3 separate regions of the Homo sapiens genome follow, and regions 2 and 3 are each linked to region 1. The links are contacts of gene promoters, found by promoter capture Hi-C in blood cells and fetal thymus (Javierre and others, 2016). All regions are on one chromosome and are shown on one strand. Each heading gives the region's core, a stretch centred on a gene start or on the middle of the fragment in contact. The rest is flanking DNA. Distances are from core to core; before and after follow the strand shown.

Region 1 (3,479 bases), core at 647-3,146:
ATAATAATGATAATAATAATAAAGGAGAAGAGCGGTTTAGGCCAGGCAGAAAAGCTGTGCTTAGCTCTGGAGAGGGAGGAGGGTGAGGAGGGGTGGAGGTGGAAATCCCTGAGAAGGCTTCACTCCTCATAAGTGATTTGTTTTACTCCTTCTCTAAGAATTAGTATTCTGTTCCCATTGAACATAAAGGAAAACCGAGGCCATCAAAGGAGGGAAGTTTAAGCCAGAGCCAACAATTCTCCTTCACCCTCTCCATCAAAAAACACTACTGAAGGGTCTCCTGTCCTGGGGATGGTGTCATCTTGGTTCTGTAGGGAGGGAGGGAGAAACTGCTGAGCCCCAGGACAGAACATTGGAGGGATTGGATACAGGCCTCTGGGAGAACAAAGGGCTCCTGGCATCCTGGCTCAGCCCCCCCACCCTCAGCCCCCCACCAGGCCAAGCACGCTGCGGGCTCCTGCCTCCAAGAGCCGCCCACGGCAGCACTTATTATAGTCTCAGCTGCGTCAGGAGGGTGGGACGCCAAATCAGGGGACTGCTGTGACTCCCCAAGTCCCGGGAAGGGGTCTCCAAGGCTGCAGAGAGACCTTCCTTCGCCCATCTTACCCCACCCCCAAGGGGTCTCAACCTCTTTTCCACTTTGGCCTAACCACTTCAGGATTCTCACCTGGCTGGAGGATAGAGAGCCTTGAACTCCAAGACCCCTAGAGGGGTGGGGGACACGGAGCAGACGGTTTCCATTCACTCTGCCTGCCTCCTCTTTAATCTTCTGAAAGAATCCCACTCAGCAAACCTCAGGAGACTGAAAGGGAACCCTGAAGAGGCCGGCTCTCACTGCCTCAACTGAAGGGTCCTTATACTTGGGGAGTGAAATCCTCCACCTGTGGGTAGCCAGGTGTCAGGGCAGTGCCTCCACTAATTCAGCATCCCGCGGTTGGTCCCCTACCCACCATACACACGGATTCCTCTCTGCTTCTGCCCGCTGTTTCTGAGGCACTCTTGGAGCTACGGTTGCTATGGAGACTGGATGCATTTTGGCATGGGGGGGTATCAGTCTAAGACACATCCTTCTCCCTCCTCCTAGAGCTGGAGCCTTTGACTTACCCTGTGGCCTGGGCTCCTCCAGCACTCAGATCTCTCCCTTCTCTCCTACCCTGCTAAGTTCCATGTTTGTCCCCATCCCTGGGGAACATTTTCCAAGTTCACTTTGGGACAGTCGAGCTCAAGTCTTGGCCCCGTCAAAGTATTAAATGTGGTGGTGTGAGTGGGAAAGGGAGCTGGGTCATGAGAACGGGAACCGTCCAGGTACCTGGGGGAGACAAGAGATCCTGGGGGAAGGGATTTCAGGGCCCCCACTTTCCCACTTCATCTTCCCCAGAATTGGCAGTGACCCTGGGTTTGCTCTGTTTACCGCGGCCCCTGTCCACCCAATAGATCGATTTTCACCCTTATCCCTAAATGCCATACCTCACAATCGCGCTTCCTAACCTTGGTGCGCGAGAGGAGGGGGCTAGGTTGTTGGAGGAGGTGAGTCCAAGTCCCAGGAAATCCAGCCCAGGATTTGGGAGAGAAATCCAGCCCTGGATTTTGCACCGCCCTCGCAGACATCGGTGCTGGTGGAGAAAAGGTGGGGGGGAGATAGGGTGGGGGGGCCTGGGGGCCGCCTCCTCCTCAATGTGAGGGGAGCGCCCGGACACAGCGCGCATCCGGACCAAGCCGAGCCCAGGCGAGGCCCCCGGACTCTTCGCCCGGATCTCACGCCCCTCCCCTCCCAGACCCCAGACCCGTGGGTTCCCACCCACCTCCCGTTCCCTCTTTCCTCCCCCGCCGCCTCCTGTATCTCCATCCCCAGCATCCTCCCCGCGCCCCTGCGAATCCCCCGCACGGCCAGCCCCACTAGCTTCCCACCCTCCTCTAGACCCTCTTTCCGACCGCATCCGCGGCCCCTGTCCCTTGAGTCCCAATTCCCCGCCCCTGCCTCCCCCGCACAGGTTCGTTTCCCCTAGCCTCCGGTCCCCTTTTCTGCTCCCTTTTCCTCTCTCTCCCCCATTTGCCCCCACTACTGTCCTCCCCGCCCTCCCCCACCCATCTCAGCGCCCCCACCCAGGCCGGGGTGGACGGTCCGGCGCGCCTCCCTGGAGCAGCACCAAGGTCCCGGGGCTCCAAGAGGGTGGGGGCGCAGGGCGGGGAGCATGGGGAGGGGGCGCCCCATGTGATGGGAGGGGGGCGCAAGCGGAGGCGGCGGAGGCGGCGGCGACAGCGGAGCCGGGCCGGGGGCTCAGCGGGGTCCGGGGGCTGGGGGCAGCGAGCAGGGCGGCCCCATGGCCGGGCCCCCCTGAGGCAGTCCGGGGGAGTCCCCTCCCCTCCCCAGCTCGGGGGTCTCCGGGCCCCATGAGCCGGGGCGCGGGCGCGCTTCAGCGCCGGACAACGACCTACCTCATCTCGCTGACCCTGGTTAAGCTCGAGTCGGTGCCTCCGCCGCCGCCTTCTCCGTCTGCGGCCGCGGCCGGCGCCGCCGGTGCCAGAGGCTCCGAGACTGGGGATCCTGGCAGCCCCCGAGGCGCGGAGGAGCCGGGCAAGAAGCGGCACGAACGTCTCTTCCACCGGCAGGATGCGCTGTGGATCAGCACGAGCAGCGCGGGCACCGGGGGCGCGGAGCCCCCAGCCCTGTCCCCGGCTCCGGCCAGTCCGGCCCGCCCAGTCTCCCCCGCTCCCGGCCGCCGCCTCTCCCTCTGGGCCGTCCCTCCGGGACCCCCGCTCTCCGGGGGACTGAGCCCCGACCCCAAGCCTGGGGGCGCCCCCACCTCCTCCCGGCGCCCCCTGCTCAGCAGCCCGAGCTGGGGCGGCCCGGAGCCCGAAGGCCGGGCGGGCGGCGGCATCCCTGGCTCATCCTCTCCGCACCCTGGCACCGGCAGCCGGAGGCTCAAGGTGGCGCCTCCTCCGCCGGCTCCCAAGCCTTGCAAGACCGTGACCACGAGTGGAGCCAAAGCCGGCGGGGGCAAGGGCGCGGGTAGCCGCCTGTCATGGCCCGAAAGCGAGGGCAAGCCCAGGGTCAAGGGGTCAAAGAGCAGCGCCGGGACTGGAGCTTCGGTCTCTGCCGCCGCCACCGCCGCCGCCGCCGGGGGAGGGGGCTCTACAGCTTCGACCTCTGGTGGGGTCGGGGCTGGGGCTGGAGCCCGAGGGAAGTTGTCCCCTCGGAAAGGCAAGAGTAAGACCTTGGACAACAGTGACTTGCATCCGGGACCGCCTGCCGGCTCTCCTCCTCCGCTAACCCTCCCACCAACTCCGAGTCCAGCCACTGCTGTCACCGCTGCTTCCGCGCAGCCCCCCGGGCCTGCACCTCCAATCACTCTGGAGCCTCCAGCTCCGGGGCTGAAACGGGGCCGGGAGGGGGGCCGAGCATCCACTCGTGACCGCAAGATGCTCAAGTTTATCAGCGGCATCTTCACCAAGAGCACAGGAGGGCCTCCTGGCTCCGG
Region 2 (3,479 bases), core at 658-3,157, 1.4 Mb after region 1:
GGCATTCCGTACTATTCCTGAGGCCTCAGCCCTCGGTCTAATCCTGGCTGACTCAGATGAGGCCTCAGGCAAGGGCAATCTGGCCAGGCTCATTCAGAGGTGGAATCGCTTCATTCTCACTCAACTGCATCAAGATATGCAGGAGCTGGAAATACCACAGGCTTATCGAGGTGCTGGAGGCAGGTATGAAATCAGGATAGAAATAGTTAAAGCCATCATGACAGGCCCCTCTGTGATTTAAAAGGTCTCCTAACTTCCTCAATGTGCATATATCATCCTCTCCACTCTTAGCAGCTTTTGCTCATCGGGGGACTCTGTTATTGGGCAGCTCTTCAGCTGTGAGATGGAGAACTGCAGCCTCTGCCGCTGTGGCAGTGAGACCGTGCGAGCCTCATCCACTCTGCTTTTCACACTCTCCTACCCTGATGGTAGCAAAAGTGGTATACCCTTCAGCTCAGTTGGGAAGGCTCCCCAAAATGTCCTGTAATATCAGGGAGAGGGTGTTGGGGACTAACTGTGGGTAGAGGGGAGAACCAGGAGTATAGCATCTAATTTTCCCTCAGATAAAACTGGGAAGAACTATGACTTTGCTCAGGTGCTGAAGCGAAGCATCTGCCTGGACCAGAATACACAGGCCTGGTGTGACACCTGTGAAAAGTACCAGCCCACGGTGAGTGGACTGTTGGACTGGACTAGAGTCCTGGTCCTGCCATGGAGATTCAGCCACTATCCCATGTGGGGCTGGCTCTGTCAGCACTGCCATCCAGGGATCTCTGGTGGAGTGAGGAATCCCAGTTTGAAGACGCAGACCCAGGTCCCTGTCCAGACTCCTTTTCCTGTACATTCCCTGCCATTCCTTGTTTGTTTCTTCCTCTCAGATTCAGACCCGCAACATCCGCCATCTGCCAGATATTCTTGTCATCAATTGTGAGGTGAACAGCTCAAAAGAGGCTGATTTCTGGAGAATGCAGGCTGAGGTAAGGACTCAGACTAGAAACAAGGCTTCCGGAATAATTTTTCATTTTATCCCCCTTCTGACCTCCATATATGATTACATTCCTGAAGAACTGGATGTTTTTCTTCTGTGTTCAGGTTGCCTTCAAGATGGCAGTAAAGAAACACGGTGGGGAAATCTCCAAGAACAAGGAATTTGCTTTGGCTGATTGGTAGGTGCTGTCTTGGGAGTTGTCAAAGGATTGAATTGCCCAGTGGTTCCTCTTATCAAGACCTCTTTCGGAACAAATTTCCAATTCTTCTGACCTGATAGGAAGGAACTAGGGAGTCCAGAGGGTGTGCTGGTGTGTCCCTCCATTGAGGAGTTGAAGAACGTCTGGCTTCCTTTCTCCATTCGCATGAAGATGACCAAAAACAAAGGGCTGGATGTTTGCAATTGGACTGATGGGGATGAGATGCAGGTTGTTGAAAAACCGGGAAGAGGAAAGGGAATAAGGGAGAGAAGGTGGGGCAGAAGGTAAAGGAGGGCAGGGGAAGGTGAAACTTAGCAGAGGGAAAAGGAAGAGAATAAGGCCTAGTATTTACCTGTTAGGGGATTTTCCATAGTCACTCAGTTCAGTGTTGGGGTCCTAGATGGGCTAGGATGGAGATAACCCACCCTGGTCCCCCATCCCCCATACCCCCAACTCCCTGTCCTCTGTCCCCATTCCCCTCCCTTCCCCATCCTTAAACTTAGCTTAGCAGCCTGGGTACCCCCCTCACAGTGGGGCCCAGCCAGGGCAGAGGAGGAGCATGGTGTCTATGTGTATGACCTGATGGCTACTGTGGTACACATCCTGGACTCACGCACAGGGGGCAGCCTGGTGGCTCACATCAAAGTTGGAGAGACCTACCACCAGCGCAAGGAGGTGAGTGAGGTTGTAGAGGGCAGGAACACTCCTGGGATGGCCACAGTGAGTCCCAGATCTGTCCTTGAGTCTGAGACAGAGTGGTCCAGCCATCAATTTGTATCGCCACAGGCTTTCTTTGTATTTCCATAGGGCGTTACTCACCAGCAGTGGTATCTGTTCAATGACTTTCTTATTGAACCTATTGATAAGGTTAGTTGCAACATGTTCTGTTTCTTCTTTCATTTCCCCTTTTCCTAGCATCCTTATCTTTAGGGCTCTATAGAATGCCAGGCAGATTCAACAGGGAGGGAGGAAGGAATCCTCAGGAATAAAAACCATTAGCACTTAAAAATAGCACCTGAAAAAAAACAAAAACTAGCACCTGAGTCCTGGCCTCCGTCTGAAGTGGGGGAAAAGGAAAAGGGTGATATACATTAGCCATAAGTGCTTTTTCTCTTCTATAGCATGAAGCTGTGCAGTTTGACATGAATTGGAAAGTACCTGCAATCCTTTATTATGTCAAACGGAATCTCAATTCCAGATACAACCTGAACAGTAAGTGCTACATAGTAGACCCAAGTGTGTGGACAGTTTAGATTGGGCTTCAGGGTGAGATCTGGGACATTGCTTGCAAGTACTTAGGATTGGTAACCAGTGTTAATATTTCTGGAGATACTAAAGAGATTCCTGCTCATCAGACCTTAAATTTAGAAGTGCGAAATCCAGCCTGAGCAACATAGCAAGATCCCATCTCTTTGAAAAAAAATTTTTTTTTTTTTTTTGAGATGCAGTCTTGCTCTGTCACCCAGGCTGGAGTGCAATTGCGCAATCTCGGCTCACTGCAACCTCTGCCTCCTGGGTTCAAGCGATTCTCCTGCCTCAGCCTCCTGAGTAGCTGGGATTACAGACGCCCACCACCACACCCGGCTAATTTTTTTGTATTTTTAGTAGAGACAGGGTTTCACCATGTTGGTCAGGCTGGCCTCGAACTCCTGACCTCATGATCTGCCCGCCTCAGCCTCCCAAAGTGCTGGGATTACAGGCGTGAGCAACTACACCCAGCCTAAAAAAATTTTTTTTTTTTTTTTAATTAGCCTAGTATAGGCCAGGCACAGTGGCTTATGGCCTGTAATCCCAGCATTTTGGGAGGCTGAGGCGGGCAGATCACTTGAGCTCAAGAGTTCAAAACCAGTTTGGGCAACATGGTGAAACCCTGTCTCTACAAAAAATACAAAAAGTAGCTGGGTATGGTGATGTGCTCCTGTTGTCCCAGCTACTTGGGAGGCTGAGGCAGGAGAATCACTTCAGCCTGGGAGTCAGAGATTTCAGTGAGTCAAGATTGCATCATTGCACTCCAGCCTGGGTGACGAGAGTGAAACCCTGTCTCAAAAAAAAAAAAAAAAATTTAGCTGAGTGTGGTGGCATATACTTGTGGTCCCAGCTATTGGAGAAGCTGAGGCGGGAGGATCACTTGAGCCCAGGAGGTCAAGGCTGCAGTGAGTGAGCCATGATTGCACCAGTGTACTCCAGCCTGGGCAACAGGATGAGACTGCTTTTTTTTTTTTTTTTGGACAGAGTTTCACTCTTGTCACCCAGGCTGGAGTGCAATGGCACAATTTTGGCTCACTGCGACCT
Region 3 (3,479 bases), core at 518-3,017, 1.1 Mb after region 1:
TGTTTTGACAGGGAGGAGAGAAGGGTTTTGGTTTCCACCTGCCTATTCCCTCCACTGGTAATCTACTTATCTCGAGAGAGGAAGAGAAACCCCCTTAGCCTTCTGTGTCTGTGGCCCACACACTCTGTGAGCCTTTGCTAAAGCTAGCTTCCTTCTTATCCTCTCTGAGCCATTTGTAGTGGGGGGGTGGAGGGGTGGAGTCTTTCCCCAAAATTCAGGAAGAGCCCACCCCTCTGTGGAGTAAGGAAATCCAATGTAGACTGATGGATCTCACCCCCCAACTCTGCCCATTTTTCAGATCTCTTTCCTCCTCAGACCCCCAGAGGAAAACGTATTTGTTGACACCCCAACTTGCCAGAGTTTCATCATCCCCACTCTGTTGCTTTTCCAGAATATTCAGCAGCCTGAGCTTTGCACAGTTTAGGCAACTGTTTCTAGAACTGCATTGCATTGAATTAAATGGGAATTATCTTCAAGGCTGCAAAGTGTTGAGTTGCAAGGAAAGGAAACCTGGTTTCCTTTCTTGTCATATTTTATCCACTGTTTGACATTGAAGAAGTCATTGAACCTCTTTGGGTCTTAATTTCTTCATTTGATGAAGGAGAGAAGGTTGAACTAGAATTTTTTTTTTTTTTTTTTTTTGAGATAGAGTCTCCCTCTGTCACCCAGGCTGGAGTGCAATGGCGCGATCTCAGTTCACTGCAACCTCCACCTCCCAGGTTCAAGCGATTCTCTTGCCTCGGCCTCCTGAGTAGCTGAGATTACAGGGGCACGCCACCACACCCAGCTAATTTTTGTATTTTTAGTAGAGACCGGGTTTCATCATGTTGGTCAGGCTGGTCTTGAACTCCTGACATCATGATCCACCTGCCTCGGCCTCCCAAAGTGCTGGGATTACAGCCGTGAGCCACCGCGTCCGGCCTGAACTAGAAATTCTCTAAGCTCTAACATCATATGACACTGTTCTTCATCCTGGTGCCCTGCAGTGGACATTTTAGGTGACAGCCAAACTCTAGTCCTCTGCTAGATTTTACTTTTCTGAGTTTTCACACAGTTATGTAGCCCTGTCAGAAAAAAATTCCCAGAACCATAGAATGGGTGGACATTTGTGGCATCTTTTTGCTGATTAGTTTTCAGCTTATCCTTTACTTCTCTGACTGCATTTAGGCTACACTCAGGTCTTTGCTGTCTGGTTCCAGAGCCGAACCTTCTTTCCCCCACGCACAGGAATCTTTCCTTTCCGGTGACCAGGGCCCTGCAGATGTCGCCAGGAAAGTGGTGATCCAGGCAGGACCAGGCTGCACTGAAGGGACAGAGGTGAGTGGGTGGCTGACTCTTGCCTCTCCCCATCCCTTTACTGAATCGCGACCTGAGTGACTAACCTTTCTATTTCCACGTTTCCATTACCCTACCTGGGAAATAACTGCCCCCGAAATTCCCCTGACTCTTACCCCTACCAGCCTGTTAGAGAAGTGGCACCTGCCTTTGGGCCTAGACGTTTGGTCTAGTCTTTTAAGTTAACCTTGGGACTGTGGCATGCCTTTCAGTTTGCCCTGTGTGAAGCAGGACCACTGCCTCCATGAGATGCGGGTGCAGAGGGAGCTGCCAGGTGGGCAAGGTGGCCAGAGTTGCAGGAGGCACAGCGGCGCTAGGACCCAGGTCCGGGTCGGAAAGATGGGCTGGCGGGCTTTAGGACCCTGTGGCGGAGGCCGCGTGGGGAGACTCTCTCCCGGCCGAGGCTTCTCCGCCCCCTCCGGCTCCGACTCACTCCTCCCCCGCCGGCCATGTTGGCTCCTCTCGGGCCCCGCGGTTGAGCCGCGTCCCCCTCCCCCTTCCCGAACCCCGGACCCCAGACCCCCTCCCCAGCGGGCGTCTCCACCCGTTCTGGCGCCCGGAGCGCGGCCATGTGAACCGCTTGTACCCCGGGGAGAGACGAGCCCCGAGCCCGGCTGGACGCCGCTGCCTCAGGTTTGTGGGGTCTGTGGCCAGGGGCCTGAGGGGGAGGGAGCCCCGCTTTCATCCGAGGCTTCCCTCGGGGAACAGAAGCTCCAGAGCCGGCTTGAGCCTTGCCGGGGCGGGAAGCCGACGGGAGCTTATTTCCTGCGAGGATCCAACCCGAGGCGAGGGTCTCCTTGCTCTGGGGTCTGGGAGGAGAACAGGGCTGGTGGGGCTGCTGAGGACCCCGGACGGGGCCGCGGGGGCAGGAGGAGCTGTAGGGGCTCCCGGCGACAGTGAGGAGGCGGAGAAGCCGCCTGGCTGGTGGAGATGACTCCTGTGGGGGACTTGGGGTGGAATCCCCGGGAGGGGCTCCACCTCCTCGGGTGGGGGTGGGGATTGCCTGAGCGCGAGGGGTGGGTGAGGGGGTTCCCTTGGCGGGTTAAAACGCTCCGTTTGCGGGGAGCTGGGCGTTTTGACTGTGGTGAGTGGAGGGCGGAAGGGGTTTCCAGGGGTCTGAGGGTGTCTCCCTCGGGGAGCGCACCCATTCTCTTGAGCGTGAAGATCAGGAGAGGGCCTTCCTTGCTGAGGGTGGTGCTGCGCTTGGCTTGGGGCCCTCGCGTCCCGGGAGAATCGCGCACTCCGGGGATGGAGGTTGATAGGGCTTCCGCTGAGGCTTTCCAATTTGAGCTGGGCTGAGGGGCAGAAGGGAAGAATAAAGAGGAATTCCTTTTTCCAAGGAGATTCCTCACTGAGGGGATCCCCGCTTCCGTGGCAGAAAGATGATACCGCATCATCCCTTTCTTTCCCGGTGTTCCCAGTTTTCAGGAGAAGGCAATGTCAATAGCAGTTGTCCTTTGTAGGGTTAATTGGAGTGAGAGATTTGTCTGCTTTGGGGGACGACGGAGGGGATAGCTTTCCACCTCTATCTGTACACAAACAGCCCCTCCCCCAGCCTCCCGCAGGAAGTGGCCGGGAAATGGCAGCTGTGCGTTTGCTGCTGCGTGTCTTGTTGTTTTGAAATGTCCATTTTAATCAGATTTGGTTTCATTTTCTGAAGCCTTCTGGGCAAGCTTGGATCTTGCCAACCATGTGGCCCGAGAGACCTTTCGTTGGACTTTTTTTTTTTTTGTAAACTTGTCAACTGGAAGTAGTCAACTTCAGTTGACTCACGTATCCCAATCCCTTCTCCAGAACATCTCTGTCTTCCTGTCTGGTTTCGTTTTGTTTTCCCTTTAGCTAGAGGTCATAGAGAAGCAAACTCAGTTATCTACCAGCGGGGTACGCTCTATGTAAGTGATGCAAATTCCCTCAGCATAGAGAGCTGTCAGGGAGACTAGAGAGCTTTTGTGGCACGAGTAGCTTCTTGGGGTCCTACTTTAGTATAGTTATTATGACAGTTTCTATATTGCAGAGCACCTGAGCAAGTGAGCTTGTGAAGAAGGGTAGATTCTAAGAAATGGACGAAGAGGAAGGGGTGAGGAAGATTTAACTATTAGATGGATTTGTGTGTCGGGGGTAGGGACTGATTAACAGACTGAGAT

The links. The method cuts DNA at HindIII sites, captures the fragments that hold promoters and counts their contacts. A CHiCAGO score of 5 or more calls a contact.
Region 2: a contact is called between a fragment that was not itself captured here and the fragment with the promoter of AGAP2 in region 1, in 1 of 17 cell types (monocytes). The highest score is 5.5, in monocytes.
Region 3: the fragment with the promoter of BAZ2A here is called in contact with the fragment with the promoter of AGAP2 in region 1 in 1 of 17 cell types (total CD4 T cells); the score reaches 5.3 in total CD4 T cells.

Annotation. Positions count from the first base shown.
Region 1 is chr12:57,737,159-57,740,637 of GRCh38, reverse strand. AGAP2 (ArfGAP with GTPase domain, ankyrin repeat and PH domain 2) reads left to right here and starts at 1,896. Exons shown (of 19, transcript NM_001122772.3): 1 at 1,896-3,479. The coding sequence starts at 2,392. RefSeq lists a silencer at 2,524-2,743. The HindIII fragment of the contact is 3,748 bases long and covers 1-3,479 here.
Region 2 is chr12:56,320,998-56,324,476 of GRCh38, reverse strand. PAN2 (poly(A) specific ribonuclease subunit PAN2) reads left to right here. Exons shown (of 26, transcript NM_014871.6): 12 at 1-183; 13 at 292-428; 14 at 564-670; 15 at 879-977; 16 at 1,093-1,166; 17 at 1,268-1,415; 18 at 1,719-1,862; 19 at 1,995-2,054; 20 at 2,309-2,399. Among named protein-coding and RNA genes, the nearest start is that of CNPY2, 6.7 kb to the right of the region's middle. RefSeq lists a silencer at 3,066-3,266. The HindIII fragment of the contact is 6,373 bases long and covers 1-3,479 here.
Region 3 is chr12:56,628,614-56,632,092 of GRCh38, reverse strand. It overlaps BAZ2A (bromodomain adjacent to zinc finger domain 2A), which reads left to right and starts at 1,767. Exons shown (of 29, transcript NM_001300905.2): 1 at 1,767-1,968. RefSeq lists enhancers at 1,461-1,530, 1,561-1,610 and a silencer at 1,831-2,180. The HindIII fragment of the contact is 7,835 bases long and covers 1-3,010 here.